Regions from separate parts of the Homo sapiens genome. Here regions 1 and 3 are each linked to region 2. Evidence: promoter capture Hi-C in 16 types of primary human blood cells and fetal thymus (Javierre and others, 2016). All regions are on one chromosome and are shown on one strand. The core of a region is centred on a gene start or on the middle of the fragment in contact, and the rest is flanking DNA. Distances in the headings are between cores, read along the strand shown. Region 1 overlaps MGME1 (mitochondrial genome maintenance exonuclease 1). Region 2 holds the start of CRNKL1 (crooked neck pre-mRNA splicing factor 1). Region 3 overlaps SNX5 (sorting nexin 5).

Region 1 (2,805 bases), core at 84-2,583, 2.1 Mb before region 2:
AGATGCATGAAGGTTTTTTTTAGTGCACTTCATATACGAGGACTTGAAAACATTTCACTTTCATTACTTTGAGTGAATAAGCAGACTTGATGCTACATGCAGTGAATATTCTTGGATCATTTTTTATTTTTATAAATTGAATCATGTTGAATGTTCTGAGCCTTAGTGTCTAAAGGATCCTGTAATCTAGGTTTTCATGTTTGTGATCATGTGTATATGAAGAACCTAGCCAGGGGTAAGTTTGCAGCGAGAAATGTATGGTCTATTGGCATGGCATTTGCTAAGTTTTTTTCTTCCTGTTTTTAACATGTTTGTCTTCTGCTTCATTAACCTAGTGTGTAGATGAATGCTATACACTTCTTTTTCCTAGGCTTTAATTCCATCAGTCATAAATTTCTTGTAGGTCTTTCACGTGTTAATAATTCCAATTGAGTCAAGTAAATTTGGAGTAGAATAACTTAGTTCCTAAGTTGAATTTCATTTAACTCTCCAAATAATTTTTCAGAAGGGATTCCATTTTTTGCTAATGATAGAATTGACATTTCCAGCTGGGCATAGTGGCTCATGCCTGTAATCCTAGCACTTTGGGAGGCCGAAGCAGGCGGATCACTTGAGGTCAGGAGTTCAAAACCAGCCTGGCCAAAATGGCGAAACCCCATCTCTACTAAAAATACAAAAAAATTAGCCGGGCGCAGCGATCACTTGTAATCCCAGCTACTACGGAGGCTGAGGCAGGAGAATCGCTTGAACCTGGGAGGTGGAGATTGCAGTGAGCCGAGATCATACCACTGCACTCCAGCCTGGAAAAAAAAAGAATTGACATTTCCATCTTTGTAAAAAATAGTTGAAGGCCGAGTGCAGTGGCTCATGCCTGTAATCCCAGCACTCTGGGAGACCAAGGTGGGACGATTGCTTGAGGCCAGGTGTTTAAGACCAGCCTAGGCAACGTAGAGAGATTGCATCTCTACAAAAAAAAAATTTTTTTGAATTAGCCAGGCGTGGTGGCACATGCCTGTAGAGGAAGCTGAGACAGGAGGATTGCTTAAGGCCAGGTGTTCAAGGTTACAGTGAGCAATGATCGAGCCAGTACACTCCATCCTGGGTGACAAGTAAGACCCTGTCTCAAAAAAAAAAAAACTTGACAAATGTAAAGTTGTTTTCCGCCTTTTCTGTGGGTCTCTCTGCAAGCATGTTCCAAGCACGTGTATTTCCTGCTCTGTTTCTCTGAGTATCTAATTGGTGATTTCCAAGATTGCTTCCTTTGCTCTACTGTGTGGTAGATTGGAAACAGATTCTGGTGCCAGGCTGCCTGTCCAGCTTTTTGCTTTGGGGCAAATTAACAGCACTGCCTGGTGGGATAGGGCCTCATTCATTAAAATGGGGGTAACTTACAATCCCTATTTTGCTGGGTTGTTGGGTTTGAAAATTAAATAATGTTTTGAAAGCTCCAAGGCCATTGCTTAGCATAACAGTCCCCCCTCTTTCTCTCCTCTTACTAAGAAACAAGTGAATATATTTCTTGTGTTTGTTGAGTCTCTTTGTGTGTTTTTTTTTTTTTTTTTTTTTTTGAGATTGTCTTGCTCTGTCACCCAGGCTGGAGTGCAGTGGCATGATCTTGGCTCACTGCAACCTCTGCCTCCTGGGTTCAAGCAATTCTCCTGCCTCAGCCTCCAGAGTAGCTGGAATTACAGGCATGCGCCACCACACCTGGCTAATTTTTGTATTTTGAGTAGAGACTGGGTTTTACCATGTTGGCCAGGCTGGTCTTGAACTCCTGACCTCAGGTAATCCGCCTGCCTTGGCTGCCCAAAGTGCTGGGATTATAGGCATAAGCCACCATGCCCGGCCATGTTCCCTTTTTTAAAATGTGTATGAGGAGGGGGCTTACTATGCAAGCGCTTGGAGGCCAACGAGCACTGAAAATGAGGAGAGAGTTCAAAAATCAAGTTAGATCCTGGGATACGCCAACAAATCCAGACACTACAGTTCTTTCGGAGAAACCTGGGGACGAAAAGTAAGGCTTTGACCTCAGAAAATGAACATACAGGAAAAATAATGTGTCCTAATGTGTCCTAATGAAATTTCTCTAGTATTCACATGTTATAAAATGTTAGGAAGAAAGAAGATGTGTCCTCCTACAAGCCATAAATCAGAATTCTAATAATCTAAAGCTAATTAGAAAAATATTACATGTTAAATATTAAATATTAGAATAGAAAAATGTATGAGGGAAAAAAATTGAGACACAGCTGAATTTTTCAGGCTGTTCCAGCACTAAAAAAAAAATACAGGAGAAGAATGTCACATATTTTCCTCTTCCTCCCCCTCCAGATTCCATAATATCAAATTCATAACTTTTCATTTGCGCATGCCTTATTTTCCATTCCTTGTTTGTCACTAATCCTGTTAGTAAAAGGATTCCCCCACCTATGTTCATAATTAAGTTTTGGTCTAAAAAGAACTACAAACAGAAGCACAGTTCCCTAGATTTCTAATTTTTTTTTATTTTATCACAGCCAGTTAACTTATTACATTGGATACTTAAACACATAGTACCATAAACTGGATGTGGTCTTGTAGCCGCCAGATCTTCAGTTTTGACTTTGGCCCAATTCTCCTAGAAGTACTTAATTTTAATTCATTTTATTACCTAACGTCCTATTAATAATCCCGTTGGTTTCAAAGTATATTCTTAGGTTTCACAAGAGGCTGAAATTTGGTCTTAGGGGTTGTCACTTAAAAATAACTAATGTAATTTTTGGCCGGGCACGGTGGCTCATGCCTGTAGTCTCAGCACTTTGGGAG
Region 2 (2,700 bases), core at 93-2,592:
TACAGTCTAACGTAGCTTAGAGCTGTGCTGTCCAACACAGTAGCTATGAGTCACATGTGGTGAGTACAAATTGAGGTGGACTGTAAGTGTAAAATACACATTGGTTTTGAAGATGAAGTATAAAAAAGAATAAACTACCTCATTACATTTTTTATACCGATTACATGTTGAAATGATAATATTTTGGATACATTAGCTCAAATAAAATATATATTATCAAAATTAATTTCACTTTTTTGCTTTGTTTTTACTTTTTAATGTAGATATGAGAAAATTTAAAATTTCATATGTGGTGTGCATTATATTTCCATTGGACCAGTGATGCCCAATAAAAGTTTATGTAGCTGAATTATAAAAAATGTTACTTAATGCCACATGTGGAGTAATGATGATAATGGTGATAGCTCATATTTAATAAGCACTAAGTGCCAGACACAGTGTTACTTGCTCTATATGCATTACTCCTGCGAGTCAGACAAATAGTTATGTAAAGGTCCAGTTCAAGAGAGTCATCCGGGCTCAAGAAAGACTGGAGGGAGGGTATCTGTAAAGGCTTCAAAGTCTGCCACATATTAAGCACTTGGTAAGTATTAGCTATCAAAGGAAATACCAGATAGTAAGTCTACTGTTTAATTAACTTATGATACTATACTACTCCTACCGTCTACTCTCGCCCTCCGCTGTCAGCTGGGCTAACTCCTATTCAGCCTTCAAGTCTCAGCTTAAAGGTCATTTCCTCAGCAAAATTTACTTTCAGGACCCCTTCATACGACCCCCTTATTCACGCCCATGGCATATTCTACTTTGCCTCTCGGTAACATCTAGCAAGGTCGTCTTTATACAGAAACTCGTGTTTTGAGTACTGCTTGTGGCCAGCGTACGAGCGTAGCTTCCCAGCGCCCAGTGCAGTGCCTGGCTCAGTAAATCTTCACCGAACCACCCCACTCCACTCCCCAGCAAAACCACCCCAGAACGAAGGCCACGCCAACGCGGGTCGTGCTCCGCGATGACAAGAGCCCGCGCCCCACCACCAGCTGCCCTTCCTCTCCATCTCTCAGGGTGAGCCTTCTCCCCGGCGGGAACACTCTCTCCCAACCCGGGCACCCTCAGGGCTGAGGGATGCCCCTTTCCTAGGCCACCTCCTACAAGGCCCCTCGCGATCGCCTACCTTGGCCACTTTGGGAATCCGCTGCTTCCCGGCCGCGGTGGAGGCCGCCATGTCTGCAGCAGTCGACCTCTGGACACCTGTCCCCGGCACGGACGCTAGAAATCGGCTCTGAGAGCTCACCGAAACCACAAAGCTTTCAGAAAACAAACAGGATCTCGGAACCGGAAGCGGAACTTGCAGGACTGACCTTTGACCTCTCGCTTGAGCCGTGACGGAGGCGGCACCGTTTCCATGGTGACCAGGCTGCGCGTCCTCCTTGCGGCAGCGCGTGGAGTGCGGCGTCCTGGAGCTGCGGATGAGGTGGGTAACGCCGTGCTGACTAGCAGCGACGCAAGGACTGCGGTGCAGGGCGTCCAGGGCGCATCCCCAGGTCAGCCTCCGGAACTGGGATGACCAGGCGAGGACGAGTGGCTCTGTCGAGCCGTGGCGCCCTGCAAGGGAGTAAGAACGGAGCTCCAATCTGGATGCTCGAGGGCGGGGGAAGAAGGGAGAGCGAGGAAACTACCATTCCCAGCATGCGACGGGGCGAGCTGCCGCCCTTTTAGGCTGCAATGCCTCGAGCATTGCATTCTAGTAGTCTCTGGGTCCACGCCCCCTCGTTTCTGGTTTCGGGACAGTTGTGCCCAAATAATTCTAAGGTGCCCAAATAATTAACTCTAAGGCTTGGAATTAAAAATAACAGAAGGTACTTTGAAGCCAGATATTAGGAAAAAATATAAATAGAGTAACTGGAAAACAACTCAGTCTTGTGATAAGAAACATGTTTAAATTCTGTGTGTGCCTTAATTACTCTAGTTAAATTTTCTTAGCCTCAATGTCCTCAACTATAAAACAAGGCTAATAACATCTGTTTCACTAGGATTAAAGACAAATGCTCAGTAGATGTTAGCTGTTATAATACTTAACCTGCCCTCAAAAACTGAAAAGCAAAGGTTAAGAGAATTTTTTTTAATAGACATTTTTAGAGAAGTTTTAGGTTCACAACAAAATTAAGTGGAAGACACAGAGATTTCCTCCCTCCACAGCTTCCTGCTATCAATTATTGTACCTCTTCCCTCCTCTAACAGCCTCCAACTCTTAAAAATATCCTCCACCAGAGCAGTACATTTGTTACAATCTTGAACCTACATTGACACATCATTATCACCCAAAGTTCATAGTTTATATTAGGGTTCACTCTTGGTGTACATTCTATGAGGTTGGACAAATGTATAATGACATGACTTGGCAGCTCATTTGTTAGGATAATTTCCACAGTTGCAAAGCTCTTTTGGTGTTTGGGGAAAATATATATTTATGTATGTAGTAATATCACGTCTACCAATGCAGATATTACTTTCAACAAAAGATTTATGCAGATTTCTAGAACTGCAGTCAGTTATAACCAACATCAATGTATTTGCCATAACTCTTTATTAACCATATTATTTAGATATTTTATCTCACTTTTCAAAATTTAAATAGAGAAGATTTTATATCACTTTCATAAAGCCACCTAACAAAATAAATAAATATTAAAAAGATGTTTCTTT
Region 3 (2,700 bases), core at 35-2,534, 2.1 Mb before region 2:
AACTGGACCAAACAGTATTTCAGTATAAACTGGTGTCTAGTTAGATACTAAGGCAGTTGCCATTTTTGAATCTGTGGAATAAGACTATGGAGGAAAGCAATGTTGTAACTGGATTTGATGGGTCAAGTCCATGAGCTCCTAAATCTACATGCAATTACTGTTACTTAGTAGCCACAGAACATTTGTTTCTTTAAAGCAATGAGAACCCTTTAACTGCAGCCTAAGTATACAGCATGAGTCTAATGAAGCTAAAAGTTAACAAAAATTACAAAGCAGCTTTATCTCAACCTAGACATTAAAAGTCACCTTAAAATTCCTAACGGTAGAAACTTGGATCTGTTGTGTTCAGTGCCTCATTCCCCAGAGCTGGTCCCGAGAGCCACTCAAGTGTGTGCTAAATGCTTTCAGGGCCTGGAGGTTTGAGTGCTGCCCTAGATGACACAGGGGTTTGGAGAGGGGGAGCTGATGGTTGAAGAGGGGAGGAATGAGTACTTTTCAGCTAAGATGAGGAAATGCAAGGATGGATTCATAAGAAACTTTCCAAAAATCTATTTTTGTTTGAAAAAATTAAATGACAACCAGATTAAAATATACTTGCTGCCTGTAGACCTGGACTTCCTCTTTCAAATTATCTATGTGATGGTTACTGAGAATGCTACTCTATAACAGCACTATTTGGCCTGGCCCAGGGGCAGCTCACTATAATCTCAGCACTATGGGAGGCAAAAGCAAGCTGATCACTTGAACTCAGGAGTTCGAGACCAGCCGGGGCAACACATGACGAAACCCCCAACTCTCTAGTTTCTTCTCAACGTCTAGTAACCAAGCTTCCGAAAGAAAAGCTTTGTACATTATGAGCAATTTATAAAGGCACAAAAGTTTATTTCCTCACTGTGCCAGACCAGCATCCTTAATAAGTATGCCCTACATATGGGAAAAGACAACTACTCTATCGGGTATTAGTGTCAATGGCCTCCAATGAATCAATGTGTGAAGTACAAAGACCATGTCCCACACTATGCAAGATGTATTACTAGTTTTAGAAAACGACGCTAGGGACCTAATTAAACAGCTGCACTTAAAACAAAATTAAGTCAGGTTCTTCTACTTATTTTTGTACACAGCACCACTTTTCTACTTCTCAAAAGACAGAGCCCACCAGGAAAATCCACTTACGCTTCCAGTTCTTGTTTCATCTTGGCAAATTCTTCTTTGGTCATAGACCCTTCACCTTCTCCCAGTTTCTGCATCTTCTCTCGAGGACCATCAAAGTCGGGCTTCGTAGGAGCAGGTGGAATCTGCAGCAGAGGCAGGAACTCATGAGCCTCTTGTCCCAGCAGCGATGTTTTCTAGTTGGTGCCTCATTCTACTCTTGCTGGTCCACAGGAGACAACCACTCCACTCCTGTGGGGCTATTTAAAAGTCAACTCCTGTTTTTTCTTAACCTTCCTTAACTCTTCTGGACATTTAAAATGAGGTGTCTTCCTGAGAGTTGCATATTCACTTTGATGGCAATCATTTGTTCAGTTTATCCATTATAGACAATTGTTCAGAGCACAACAGTGTCTATACTGCTTCAGTGTTCGCCTAAAACTAGTACAACGAATGCTAAGCACCAAAGATGAGCCATCAAGATTATAAAGTGTTCAGTATTCCAAAGGAATTTTTTCCTAATCCCAAAGGATAATCAAGGACTCTAATTTTGAATGAAAGACATATCTAAATATAAGCTTCGGTATTAATTTTGTTTAATGATTAAGCAATCATCATTTGGAGAGCTTCTTCAGTCTGCCTGGCAGGACAAAACGCGTGGAAATCTCCTTTAAAATCAGTTAAGTCTGTTCCTGCCGCCAAGAAATAACAATCAAGGGCTGAAAACTGCCTCCTTGAGCACTTTTTTTGTTTTTGGGAGAAAGAGTCTCGCTCTGTCACCCAGGCTGGAGTGACGTGGCACGGCCTCGGCTTACTGCAACCTCTGCCTCTCAAGTTCAAGCGATTCTCATGCCTCAGCCTCCCCAGTGGCTGGGACTACAGGTACGCACCACCACGCCCAGCAAATTTTTTGTATTTTTAGTAGAGACAGGGTCTCATCATGTTGCCCAGGCACGTCTTAAAATTCTGAGCTCAGGTGATCCACCCACCTTGGCCTCCCAAAGTGCTAGGATTAAAGGCATGGCCTCCTTCAGCAACTTTTGAGAAATCTTATCACAAACTATTACCAATAGCAGTGTTTCCTAGAAATCAATTCTACTGACATAGGAAAAAACATACCAGAGAAAAACCAAACCTAAAGGTAGGTAAGACTAAAGTCATTACACTGTTCACACCCCTTTACAATGTAAATAATGTAAGCCTGTATGCACCACCTCAAAGCTGTAACACTATTCCTTCACATACTTTCCACTTGACAGTCAGCAAATACTCCAGTAGGTAGATGAAATCTAACTTTTCACAATCCATTAAAAAAAGTGGATATAAGTCTCTTTTAAACTAATGCATAGCAAGGCAGAAAGAACTAGCTTATTTGATTTTCTAAAAGACTCACAATAAGCCCAGCATAGTCTGTTGTTTCAATAAGAGTGTCATGTAGCCACACAAAGTCTTCATGTTGCCTTGTAACAGAAAACTCTGGGCTCTGAAACGTGGGCAGTGTGGTCTGTAAAGAAAGAAAGAAGTTAACTGGTAACCACGACTTTTAGA

The links. Contacts are between HindIII fragments. The CHiCAGO score rates a contact against its expected background, and 5 or more counts as called.
Region 1: a fragment that was not itself captured here is called in contact with the fragment with the promoter of CRNKL1 in region 2 in 3 of 17 cell types (naive CD4 T cells, naive CD8 T cells and total CD8 T cells); the score reaches 6.1 in naive CD4 T cells.
Region 3: a contact is called between a fragment that was not itself captured here and the fragment with the promoter of CRNKL1 in region 2, in 1 of 17 cell types (total CD4 T cells). The highest score is 5.3, in total CD4 T cells.

What each region holds. Positions count from the first base shown.
Region 1 is chr20:17,972,517-17,975,321 of GRCh38, forward strand. All of the region lies in intron 2 of MGME1 (mitochondrial genome maintenance exonuclease 1), which reads left to right. Among named protein-coding and RNA genes, the nearest start is that of MGME1, 4.9 kb to the left of the region's middle. The HindIII fragment of the contact is 5,566 bases long and covers 1-2,805 here.
Region 2 is chr20:20,051,124-20,053,823 of GRCh38, forward strand. CRNKL1 (crooked neck pre-mRNA splicing factor 1) reads right to left here and starts at 1,343. Exons shown (of 14, transcript NM_001278628.2): 1 at 1,169-1,343. The coding sequence starts at 1,219. CFAP61 (cilia and flagella associated protein 61) reads left to right here and starts at 1,409. Exons shown (of 27, transcript NM_015585.4): 1 at 1,409-1,468. RefSeq lists enhancers at 1,198-1,367, 1,378-1,677 and a silencer at 1,768-1,817. The HindIII fragment of the contact is 2,238 bases long and covers 1,300-2,700 here.
Region 3 is chr20:17,952,820-17,955,519 of GRCh38, forward strand. SNX5 (sorting nexin 5) reads right to left here. Exons shown (of 13, transcript NM_014426.4): 3 at 2,546-2,656; 4 at 1,177-1,298. Among named protein-coding and RNA genes, the nearest start is that of SNORD17, 8.8 kb to the right of the region's middle. The HindIII fragment of the contact is 888 bases long and covers 841-1,728 here.